Linked DNA regions of Homo sapiens: region 2 is linked to region 1. The links are contacts of gene promoters, found by promoter capture Hi-C in blood cells and fetal thymus (Javierre and others, 2016). All regions are on one chromosome and are shown on one strand. Each heading gives the region's core, a stretch centred on a gene start or on the middle of the fragment in contact. The rest is flanking DNA. Distances are from core to core; before and after follow the strand shown.

The links. The method cuts DNA at HindIII sites, captures the fragments that hold promoters and counts their contacts. A CHiCAGO score of 5 or more calls a contact.
Region 2: a contact is called between a fragment that was not itself captured here and the fragment with the promoter of LINC02453 in region 1, in 10 of 17 cell types (non-activated CD4 T cells, fetal thymus, naive CD8 T cells and 7 more). The highest score is 9.5, in non-activated CD4 T cells.

What each region holds. Positions count from the first base shown.
Region 1 is chr12:98,500,937-98,506,390 of GRCh38, forward strand. LINC02453 (long intergenic non-protein coding RNA 2453) reads right to left here and starts at 2,919. Exons shown (of 4, transcript NR_038383.1): 1 at 2,824-2,919; 2 at 1,647-1,676. TRD-GTC1-1 (tRNA-Asp (anticodon GTC) 1-1) reads left to right here and starts at 2,567; the gene lies at 2,567-2,638. It overlaps TRW-CCA4-1 (tRNA-Trp (anticodon CCA) 4-1), which reads left to right and starts at 3,316; the gene lies at 3,316-3,387. RefSeq lists enhancers at 2,657-2,966, 2,977-3,276. The HindIII fragment of the contact is 12,452 bases long and covers 1-4,389 here.
Region 2 is chr12:98,550,045-98,555,375 of GRCh38, forward strand. It overlaps TMPO (thymopoietin), which reads left to right. Exons shown (of 9, transcript NM_001032283.3): 9 at 1-307. Among named protein-coding and RNA genes, the nearest start is that of TMPO-AS1, 36 kb to the left of the region's middle. The HindIII fragment of the contact is 2,293 bases long and covers 887-3,179 here.

The sequences.
Region 1 (5,454 bases), core at 1,669-4,168:
CAGGAGAACTGGGTTCACTGCCCCATAGCTCTACGAACTGAGAGACTTGGGGAAGTCCCTTCGATTTTACTAGGAAAAGGACGTCATCATAGCTATCACAGTGCCCTTTGGCCCTGGCAAAAGTTTTTGGAGGATCAAAGTGGAAGGAGGCTCCCACACACTGAGAGTTTGTATTGAGGCTTTCGGTGTAGTTAAGAGTGAAACAGGGGCCGGGCGCGGTGGCTCACGCCTGTAATCCCAGCACTTTGGGAGGCCGAGGCGGGTGAATCACCTGAGGTCAGGAGTTCTAGATCAGCCTGACCAACATGGTGAAACTGTCTCTACTAGAAATACAAAATTAGCTGGCTGTGGTGGCACATGCCTGTAATCCAGCTACTTGGGAGACTGAGGCAGGAGAATCGCTTGAACTCGGGAGGCAGACGTTGCAGTGAGCCAAGATTGTGCCATTGCACTCCAACCTGGGCAACAAGAGCAAAACTGCGTCTCAAAAAAAGAAAAGAGAGAGAGAGTGAAAAAGGGCTGAGCGCGGCCGCTTGAGGCCGAGGCGGGTGGATCACTTGAGGTCAGGAGTTTGAGACCAGCCTGACTAACATGGTGAAACCCCCGACTCTACTAAAAATACAAAAGGGAGTGGTGGCGTGCGCCTGTAGTTCCAGCTACTCGGGAGGCTAAGGCAGAGGAATCGCCCGAACCCAGAAGGCGGAGGTTGCAGTGAGCCGAGAGCGTGCCACTGCACTCCTGCCTGGGCGACAGAGCAAGACTCCGTCTCAAATAATAATAATAATAATGAGAGCAAAAAAGAAAGAAAAGCCAAAACAAGCCTCAGAAACTGCCATTTGTTTAATATCTGCATTAAAAAAATTATCCCTTCCATCAGATGAAAAATACCTTATAATTTATGATGGATAATACATTAATTCGTAGCACACTAGAAACAAGGGATTCCTTAAGACACATATGTGGGGTTTTTGTTGTTGTTGTTGTTGTTGTTGTTATTTTTATTATCTTTAAGGATAATTTGTTGGGTAGGGGTCAGTGAGTTGGGAGTCCTGATTGGTTGGGTCGGAGACGAGACACGTAAGTTTAAGTTCTATAATGAAACGCTTTCAATCATGTCAGTTTATCTGTGCCTATAAACACACTCCTTTAGAGAAAATCAAAAGTTTATAGCCAGGCGCGGTGGCTCACGCCTGTAATCCCAGCACTTTGGGAGGCCGAGGTGGGTGGATCACCTTAGGTCAGGAGTTCGAGACCAGCCTGACCAACGTGGTGAATTACCATCTCTACTAGAAACACAAATTGAACGGGCGTGTTTGTGGGCACCTGTAATCCCAGCTACTCGGGAGGCTGAGACAGGAGAATCGCTTGAACCCGGGGGACGGAGGTGGTAGTGAGCCAAGATCGCACCACTGCACTCCAGCCTGGGCAACAAGAGTGAAACTCCGTCTCAAAAAAAAAAGTTTACATATAAGGCTCTCTTAGTATCCCTGGGAAGAGGGTTCATCCTGTCTATGAACGGGTTTAGGATGACACAAATTATCAAATTATCCGATTAGTGCACTTTCCTAACCCATATGTTTAATCAGTGGCACATCCTGGTTTTGAATTATTTAAACGCATTATTATTTAGCCATTCACATACTTACGTTTGTCACTTCCAGTTAAACTGTAGCCACCTACAGAGAGCGAAACAGAAGTCGGCTGATAAAATTTTGATAAAATTTCATTTGCCCGCAGCTGGTCATTTCATTGGGCGCTTTTGTGTTACAAAAGTGTGTGAATTGGCCGGGCGCGGTGGCTCACGCCTGTAAATCCCAGCACTTTGGGAGGCCGAGGCAGGTGGATCACTAAAGGTCACGAGTTCGAGACCAGTCTGGCCAACATGGTGAACCCTCCCCCCCCCCACACACACACACACACCCCGCGTCTCTAGTAAAATACAAAAATTAGCCAGGCATGGTGGTGCGCGCCTGTAATCCCAGCCACTCGAGAGGCTGAGGCGGGAGAATCACTTGAGCCTTGGAGGTGGAGGTTGTAGTGAGCCCAGATCGCAACACTGCACTCCAGCCTAGGGGACAGAGCGAGACTTCCTCTCAAAAAAAAAAGACTTATGAATTGTTTGAAGAGGCACGAGACCGTGGCAACCCTAACTGTCCCCGACATCTGGCAGCCATATGCTATCCTTGAACTTGAACTTCAGAGTGAAAGTATAAATTTGTAAGGGGAAGGCTCAGCCGCAAGTCACATACCAGTGGTCAGTTAAAAAAAAAAAACTCAGGACGGCAACCTAAATCATTTAGAACGCGTCAAGAGCCTCGGAAAAACTATTTTCACACACTTCTCTAGCACTAACATGGGAAGCGCGTTTCCTTCACATATTCCACACCTTTTATTCTTCCCACCAACATCAAGAATACAAAGCGCCCAGAGAGGACAATAAGCCTAAGCAGCGGCTCCAAGAGACCGGACTTTCGTACTTCCCGGGGGCAGGCGGAAGGTTACGGAGCGCTGGAAGGATCTTACTGCTCCTTGAAGGGCTGTCTGAGAAAATACACAGCCTAACGACTCCTCGTTAGTATAGTGGTTAGTATCCCCGCCTGTCACGCGGGAGACCGGGGTTCAATTCCCCGACGGGGAGGTGTGTAGCTGCACTTTTTTGGCGACAGTTATTATTTTCTGTATCATTCAATGACAGGACACTGCTGTTAAACATAATATGCTAAACCAGCTCCCTTAAGTGCACAACCCTGTCTTCAAAATGGTGACTTTTAACCTTAATGCCCACCATGAAGTGAAAGCCTCCCCTGAGAGAAAATGCCTTACATTGTTTGCAGGAAGGGAGGAAAGGGAAAAAGAAAACGCTCTGAAGGCCTCTGCCCTTGCCTCCAGCCGCCATCTTGCGAAGGCCTGCGCCGGCTTAGTGGCGCCCCGCCAGATTACAACTCGAGGTCGCGAACTCAGCGCGCGGAACCTGTTGGGGGAGGGGAGAGAGGGCGGAGTCTCGCGACTAACGGGGCGGGGGCAGGGCGGGTAAGAACGGAAATCATTTGGTAAAGAAAAGGAAGGGCCAATTTCCTTTGATCCTGGAGACCCGACTAAACGGGAAGCCCCGTTCTCCCGCTTCCGCTGGTTACGTCCCAGCCTTGGTTAGAGGACTAGCAGTCAGGAAAGTTTGGACGCTGAAGGAATCGGTCTCCTGGTCCGACAGATACTGGGTGGAGGGGCAGAGAGTAAATGGAAGAGAAAGACTGGTACCCCTGGAAGAAACGCCATTTACTGGTGTCCTAAGAAACTGCGCGAGCCACAGCCCAGCAGGACCTCGTGGCGCAACGGTAGCGCGTCTGACTCCAGATCAGAAGGCTGCGTGTTCGAATCACGTCGGGGTCAAACTTTTTTTTTTTCCTCCTGTATTTTAAACTACCGACTACTAGAAGCCGAGGTGTATTCCTGCCGCCAATTTTCTTGAATGTTAGAATTAAGTTTTCCTCTTTCAGGTATTATGATACTAATCCTTGGTTTGCAGGAAGATATGATTTACTCTATATCGAAGAGCCTCAAGGCTGATGTTTTTATCATTTGGCCTTTTAAAGTGAGTTTTTTTGTCACTTAACATGCATAATGTGTAAAGAGGTGGACTATTACTGCTGTGCATTAGTGGGTGTATCAGTCCACTAGTCTATCACAGGAAGTGTACAATATACTGTACAAGCTGTTTTTTCCAAACAGTTTTAGGCTGTTTGCCTTTTGAAAGAGAGTACAATAGTGTACAATTTCTAATTTTGAATATTATGCTAATCAAGTGTCTTAGCCCTTACCATGTGCCAACACTGTGAACAACCTCACAATGTGTGACTATTATCCCACTTTTACAAATGTGGCTGTGGCTCACAGGGTTAGTGACCTGCCAAGGGTCACCCAAGATTCTGAACCAGGTGAGGGACTCTGGATCCCTCTTTATAAATACTTTATAATAAAGGTGGAAACAAACAGTTGAAAGAATGTGTGACTGCCAGGCTCAGTGGCTTACACCTGTAATCCTAGCACTTTGGAAGGCCAAAGTGGGTGGATCACGAGGTCAGGAGTTCAAGACCAGCCTGACCAACATGGTGAAACCCCATTTCTACTGAAAATACAAAAATTAGCTGGGCATGGTGGGGTGCACCTGTAATCCCAGCTACTCCGGAGGCTGAGGCAGAAGAATTGATTGAACCCGGGAGGCGGAGGTTGCAGTGAGCCTGGGTGACCAAGCAAGACTCCTTCTGGAGGTGGGTGGCGGGGAGGAATGTGGGAAAAGCTGTTGGACTGGGCGCCTTTTATGTTTTCACCGATTATGCGAGTGATGACTAGTCACCACTTTTGACTATTAATCTCTTTAATAGCAGGAAGCAAAGCTTGCTCGTTCACATTTGCAAGCTCCAGGACTCTTAGTACTAAATAGTGCCCTACACGTAAGTGTCAAATATTTGTTGAACAGAAAATGAATAGCAAGACTATGAGAAATTAATAGTTTTAGATTTTGATGATATGTTTTGTAAAATTCCTGAGGTTTTCTGCTTAGTATTTTGAAAATACCAAACACTAATTTCTTTTGATTCAACCTAATGTAGCAGTATACCTGGAAATTATATTTGCACATGGTGTGGTTTGTTCTTCCCTCTCCTGTTTGGATTAAAATTAGATCATCCATTTCAACGGGTATTTATGGACTGTCAACTCTGATGAGCCTGATACTGTGCTAAGTACTAAGGATGAGGATACACTGAGTAAAAATGGGTTTTTTTGAGCATCAGGAGACAGATATGTTAAGCCACCAAACGCCATAATGTGTTGGGGTAAGTTCATGTTACTTGGTAAGAACCATGAAAGTAACATGAACAGAGTGGTATGGGGGTGCTAAAACAGTGGACAGTAACTCCACATTGGGTTGTATGAGGCTATAACAAGGTGATACAACCTCTCCATCTACATCACAAAAATATGGTTTTGTCCAAATGAGTTAACATGATTGGTCCAAGCTACGATATATGCAGTATATGCAAATGATGCCAGAGGGAAGAAATGGCTTCTGTTATGGGCTGAATTTTTTTTTTTTTTTTTTTTTTGAGATGGAGTCTCACCCTGTCGCCCAAGCTGGAATGCAGTGGCAACCTCCGCCTCCCAGGTTCAAACGATTCAGCCTCCCAAGTAGCTGGGATTACAAGTGCACCCCACTACACCCAGCTATTTTTTTGTTTGTTTGTTTGTTATCTTTAGTAGAGACAAGGTTTCACCATGTTGGCCAGGCTGGTCTTGAACTCCTGACCTCATGATCCACCTGCGTCAGCCTCCCAAAGTGCTGGGATTACAGGCGTGAGCCACCACACCCAGTTTATGGGCTGAATTTCATCTCCCCAACATTCATATGTTGAAGCCCTCACTCCTAGTACCTCAGAATGATCGTAAGACCTGATTAAG
Region 2 (5,331 bases), core at 783-3,282, 48 kb after region 1:
TTTAGTGTTTAAAAATGTGGGGAGATAAATCAGACTTAACATGTATGTAAGATCAATTCACTTAAAAGTATGGTCCAAATAGCAAAAATAGGACCAGGTGAAACATGTAGTCATTTTTTAAAAACATGTACTTGGTCTTTTGTGTGTGTCTGTTTTATTCCATTAGAATAAATGTGTCCTTGATGTAAATGCAAAGCATTTCTTCCTGATTAAATTGTAGATGTAGACTTTACAATATAATTCAATAATAAAAAGTAATTAACCTCTAGTTTTGTCGTTGCAATAAATGGTTTTCAGATAGCACAAACTGTGATTTCTGGATAACATTTCTTATGTGATATTTATGGATTATTGTGTTTTATTTCAGTCTGTTCATATGTTTTACTTCTTATTGTAATCGGGTTCTCGTTTATTCAAAGGTAAGCAATGTGTAGCTACTGTACTCACAGAATGACATTAAGCGCTCCAAGGCACCTCTCCCACACCTAGTTCCTTTTTCCCACCACTTTTACTGTCTTTAGTATTTACCTATGACCCTTATGATTGTTAGTCTTGCTTTGAGACTAAGCCCGTGTCACTGTGATACGTCATGGAGCTGTGCTCACAAGATGAAAGTGCCATTATGTCTTCCTCATTCATGTGTCCCCAGAGGTGATTTGACTTAAATTAGTGTTTCTCAAGGTAGTATAGACACCATAATTAATTATAAGGCAAATCGCATCAAAGGCTTAAAACAACAAGTTTTATTGCATGCTTACCATGTGCTAGGTACTTTTCTATGTGCTTAATATGTATTGATTCACTCAATCCTCACGATAATCCTATGGAGTAGGCATTTTCGTAATATCATTACAAATGAGGAAACTGATGGTTAGAGGTGTTAGGAAGCTTCTTCATGTTTGCACACAGCTGAGAAGTGATGGCTCTGGTTGCATATAATATGGCAGAGGGAACCTAAAACAAACAATTCTCTGTTTACATGCTTTAAACCAGTTCTGTGTTCAGCCCTGCTCCTTTCACAACTTTGGTGGTGCCTTCTGAGTTTCAAACCTCTGAAGCGTTCTTTTGGGTAAAGTAGCTCACTCCTAGTTTTTCTTGTTTTTGTTTTTGTTTTCTTTGAGACAAGGTCTCACTTAATCTTTCTCTGTGGCTATTTAAATCTTCTGGCCAGGTATGGTGGCTCACACCTACAATTCTAGAACTTTGGGAGGCCGAGGCAGGCAGATCACCTGAGGTCAGGAGTTCAAGAGCAGCCTGGCCAACATGGCAAGACAATTTTTAGTCTCTACTAAAAATACAAAAATTAGCCAGGTGTGGTGGTGGGTGCCTGCAATCCCAGCTACTCGGTAGGCTGAGGCAGAAGAATGACCCGAACCTGGGAGGCAGAGGTAACACTCCAGCCTGGGTGACAGAGTGAGACTCCATTTCAAAACAACAACAGTAATAATAAATTTAAGCCTTATTTAATTTTGCTAATTTTTCTGTTTCTTAATCTTTTTTTTTTTTTTTTTTTTTTGACAGAGTCTTGCTCTGTCGCCCAGGCTGGAGTGCAGTGGCGCCATCTTGGCTCACTGCAACCTCTGCCTCCAGGGTTCAAGTGATTCTCCTGTCTCAGCTTCCCGAGTAGCTGGTACTACAGGTGCGCCGCCATGCCCAGCTAATTTTTGTATTTTTAGTAGAGACGGGGTTTCGCCATGTTGGGCAGGCTGGTCTTGAACTCCTGACCTCAAGTGATCCTCCCAAAGTGCTGGGATTACAGGCGTGAGCCACCACCCCTGGCCTAATTTGTTTTTGTTTGTTTTTTTTTTATCTTCCAGGCAGCTTTTTGAAGTATCTTTTGCTATCTCACTCTACCTCTTTGTCATTGTGTTAAACCCTTTTTTATTCCCTTATCAGTATTCAAGTCTCAGTAGAAATAGGCTGTAAGCATGTGGTCAGCCTGTCACCTTGAATTGATGGTCACTGAGAGCTTTTCGGGATTCACATATCCTTTCCACCAAAGATTTGGGGAGAAAGTAGAGGAGCAGACATAGGGTTTGAGTGCAAGGGGTCTCCATGTGTTTTGTTAAGTTCTCCTAATTATGGAATCATTAGTTGAATCGACAACATTTATACTATATTTACAGTGTTTTTAAATGGATTGAAATTTATTAGTTACCAAATTTTGCCACTTAATGCAACAGACATTTGATACTTTCTCTGTGGTGAATAACAATGTGTAGTTGACGGTGCTTGGGTGCAGTTTTAGAATTTTCTGTGAACTTGAGGCACTCTTTGGGGAAGTTGTTTTTTTTAAAAGCATCTGACGCTGGGTGTGGTAGCTCATGCCTGTAATCCCAGCACTTTGGGAAGCCGAGATGGGTGGGTCACCTGAGGTCAGGAGTTTCAAGACCAGCCTGGCCAACATGGCGAAACCTTGTCTACTAAAAGTACAAAATTAGCTGGGGGTAGTGGTGCACCCCTGCAGCCCCAGCTACTCAGGAGACTGAGGCGGGAGAATCGCTTGAACCTGGGAAGTGGAGGTTGCAGTGAGCCGAGATCGTGCCATTGCACTCTAGTCTGGGTGACGAGCAAAACTCTGTCCCAAAAATAATAACGGGCTGGGCACGTTGGCTCACGCCTGTAATTCCAGCACTTGGGGAGGCCGAGACGCGGAGCACCTGAGGTCAGGAGTTTGAGACCAGCCTGACCAATATGATGAAACCCCACCTCTACTAAAAATACAAAAATTAGGCGGGCATGGTGGCATGTGCCTGTAATCCCAGCTACCCAGGAGGCTGAGACAGGAGAATCGCTTGGACCCGAGAGGTGGAGGTTTTAGTGAGCCGAGATCTTGCCATTGCACTCCAGCCTGGGCACAATCTAGCCTGGGCAACAAAGGCGAAACTCCCATCTTAAAAAATAATAAAAATAAAATTGAAACATATTGTCTATTCTAGTAACTAATAGCCATATAGGTTTATTAGCAATTTAAATATTGCTATTGTTCATTGTATTGAGAGAAACTAATGACCTTATAGTCAAATAACTAAAAATTTGCTTATTTTGGAATAAATAAAAGCTAAGTATGAAAATTCAGTCCTGACAATAGACCACTAATGACTTTATTGTCCAGAAATTGACACATTGGTCTTGTGACAGTGAATACATTTTCCTTCCTTTTGGAGGAAGGGGATGTAAGCTTTTAGGAGCTATAAATGCATTTCCAACTTACGTTTATGATGAGTTTATTGGCACATATACCCCATCATAAGTTGAGCATCTCTACATGTCACATCATGATGGACCCAACAGACAATGTTGAATGGAGCAAGCCTGGGAAAAAGTAGGGCATTGTTCCATTCAGAATTCCTAATGTAGAAAAGCAAAAATAGTCCATGGCGATAGAAGTCAGAATACTACATACCTTTAGGGAGGAGTGGCTATTAACTGAGTATGAGAGATTCTTGCAAGGTGATAGAAATGTTTGTGTCTTGGCCAGGCGTTGTGGCTTTTGCCTGTATTCCCAGCTCCTGGGAGGCCAAGGCAGGAGGATCACTTAAGCCCAGGAATACAAAACCAGCCTGGTTAACATAATGAGACCCTATTTCTTTTGTTTTTCTTCAGGAAATACGTAGGTGTGGTGGCTCATGCCTATAGTCCCACCTACTCAGGAGATGACCCTATCTTTAAAAAAAAAAAAAAAATTTATCCAAACTGAAGCAGAGAGAGGAAAAGGCTAAAAAGCACCTCAACAAAGCCTCAGTAACCTGTGTGTGAGACAATATCTAGCAGTCTTTTTTTTCTTTTTGAGACGGAGTTTTCGCTCTTGTCGCCCAGGCTGGAGTGCAATGGCGCGATCTCGGCTCACCGCAACCTCCGCCTCCTGGGTTCAAGCGATTCTCCTGCCTCAGCCTCCCGAATAACTGGGATTACAGGCATGCGCCTCCACGCCCGGCTAATTTTGCATTTTTAGTAGAGGCGGGGTTTCTCCATGTTGGTCAGGCTGGTCTCAAGAACTCCTGACCTCAGGTGATCCGCCCGCCTCGGCCTCCCAAAGTGCTAGGATTACAGGCGTGAGCCACCGCGCCGGGCCAATATCTAGCAGTCTTTCATAGATGTAATGGTAATACCAGGGGATGAGAGAGTGCAGGGGGAAAAATAATTTCTTAAGAAATGGCTGAAAATTTACTAAGTTCCCAGAAACTATATAAGCCCAAGTATGGGAAGTTCAAGTGACCCCAAAACAAAGTCAAACCAAGGCAACTGTGGCCGGGCGCGGTGGCTCATGCCTGTAATCCCAGCACTTTGGGAGGCCGAGGCGGGCGGTTCAGGAGATCAAGAGATTGAGACCATCCTGGCTAACACGGTGAAACCCCGTCTCTACTAAAAATACAAAAAGAAATTAGCCAGACGTGGTGGTGCATGCCTGTAGTCCCAGCTACTCTGGAGGCTGAGGCAGGAGAATGGCGTGAACCCCGGGAGGCAGAGCTTGCAGTGAGCCGAGATCGCGCCACTGCACTCCAGCCTGGGCGACAGAGTGAGACTCCGTCTCAAAAAAAAAAAAAAAAAAAAAACAAGGCAACTTTAGTGAAGCTATTGCGTACCAGTTTATGATAAAGGGTGGGGGAAGAAAAACAATGAAAGACAACTTAGCAACTGGAGAAAACTGTACACATGACATGGGTAATCAGCAATTAGTTACTACTACTCATTAGTAATAGTGCAAGTCAGACAGTAATGAAACATCTTTAAAGTGATGAAAGAAATATCAGTGTAGATACCCAGCAAAAATATCCTTCAAAATAAAGGTATCTTCAGATTAAACTACAAATGGAAAAGAATACTAGATTAAAACTGGAATTACACAAAGGAATGAAGAGTGCCAGAAATGGTAAATTTATGGCTAAAGACTTTATTGTTTTTCTTTAAAAAGTAGTTTACTGTTCAATACAAAATTGTAGTCATGTATTGTGGGATGTGAAATGTAAAATGTATGTCAATAAAGATAAAAAATGAATATTGTTATCACGTTCTTATATGTAGATTAATATTATTTGAAGATAGACTGTAATAGGTTAAAGATGCATATTGTAAACCCTAAGGTAGCCATTAATAACAAAACAGAGGTATAGCTAGTAAACTAATGGAGTACATAAAATGTAACACTAAGAAAAAGACTCAATCCAAAAGAAAATGGGAAAAGAGGAAAAAACACTGGAGGGTTGGGAAAAGTAGAAAACAAGTAATAAGATGGTAGTCTTAAATCCAACTACAGATGCTCCTTGATTTACATTGGGTTTATCCAGATGTTACACCATCATAAGTCAAGGAGTATACTGAACTTGTGTT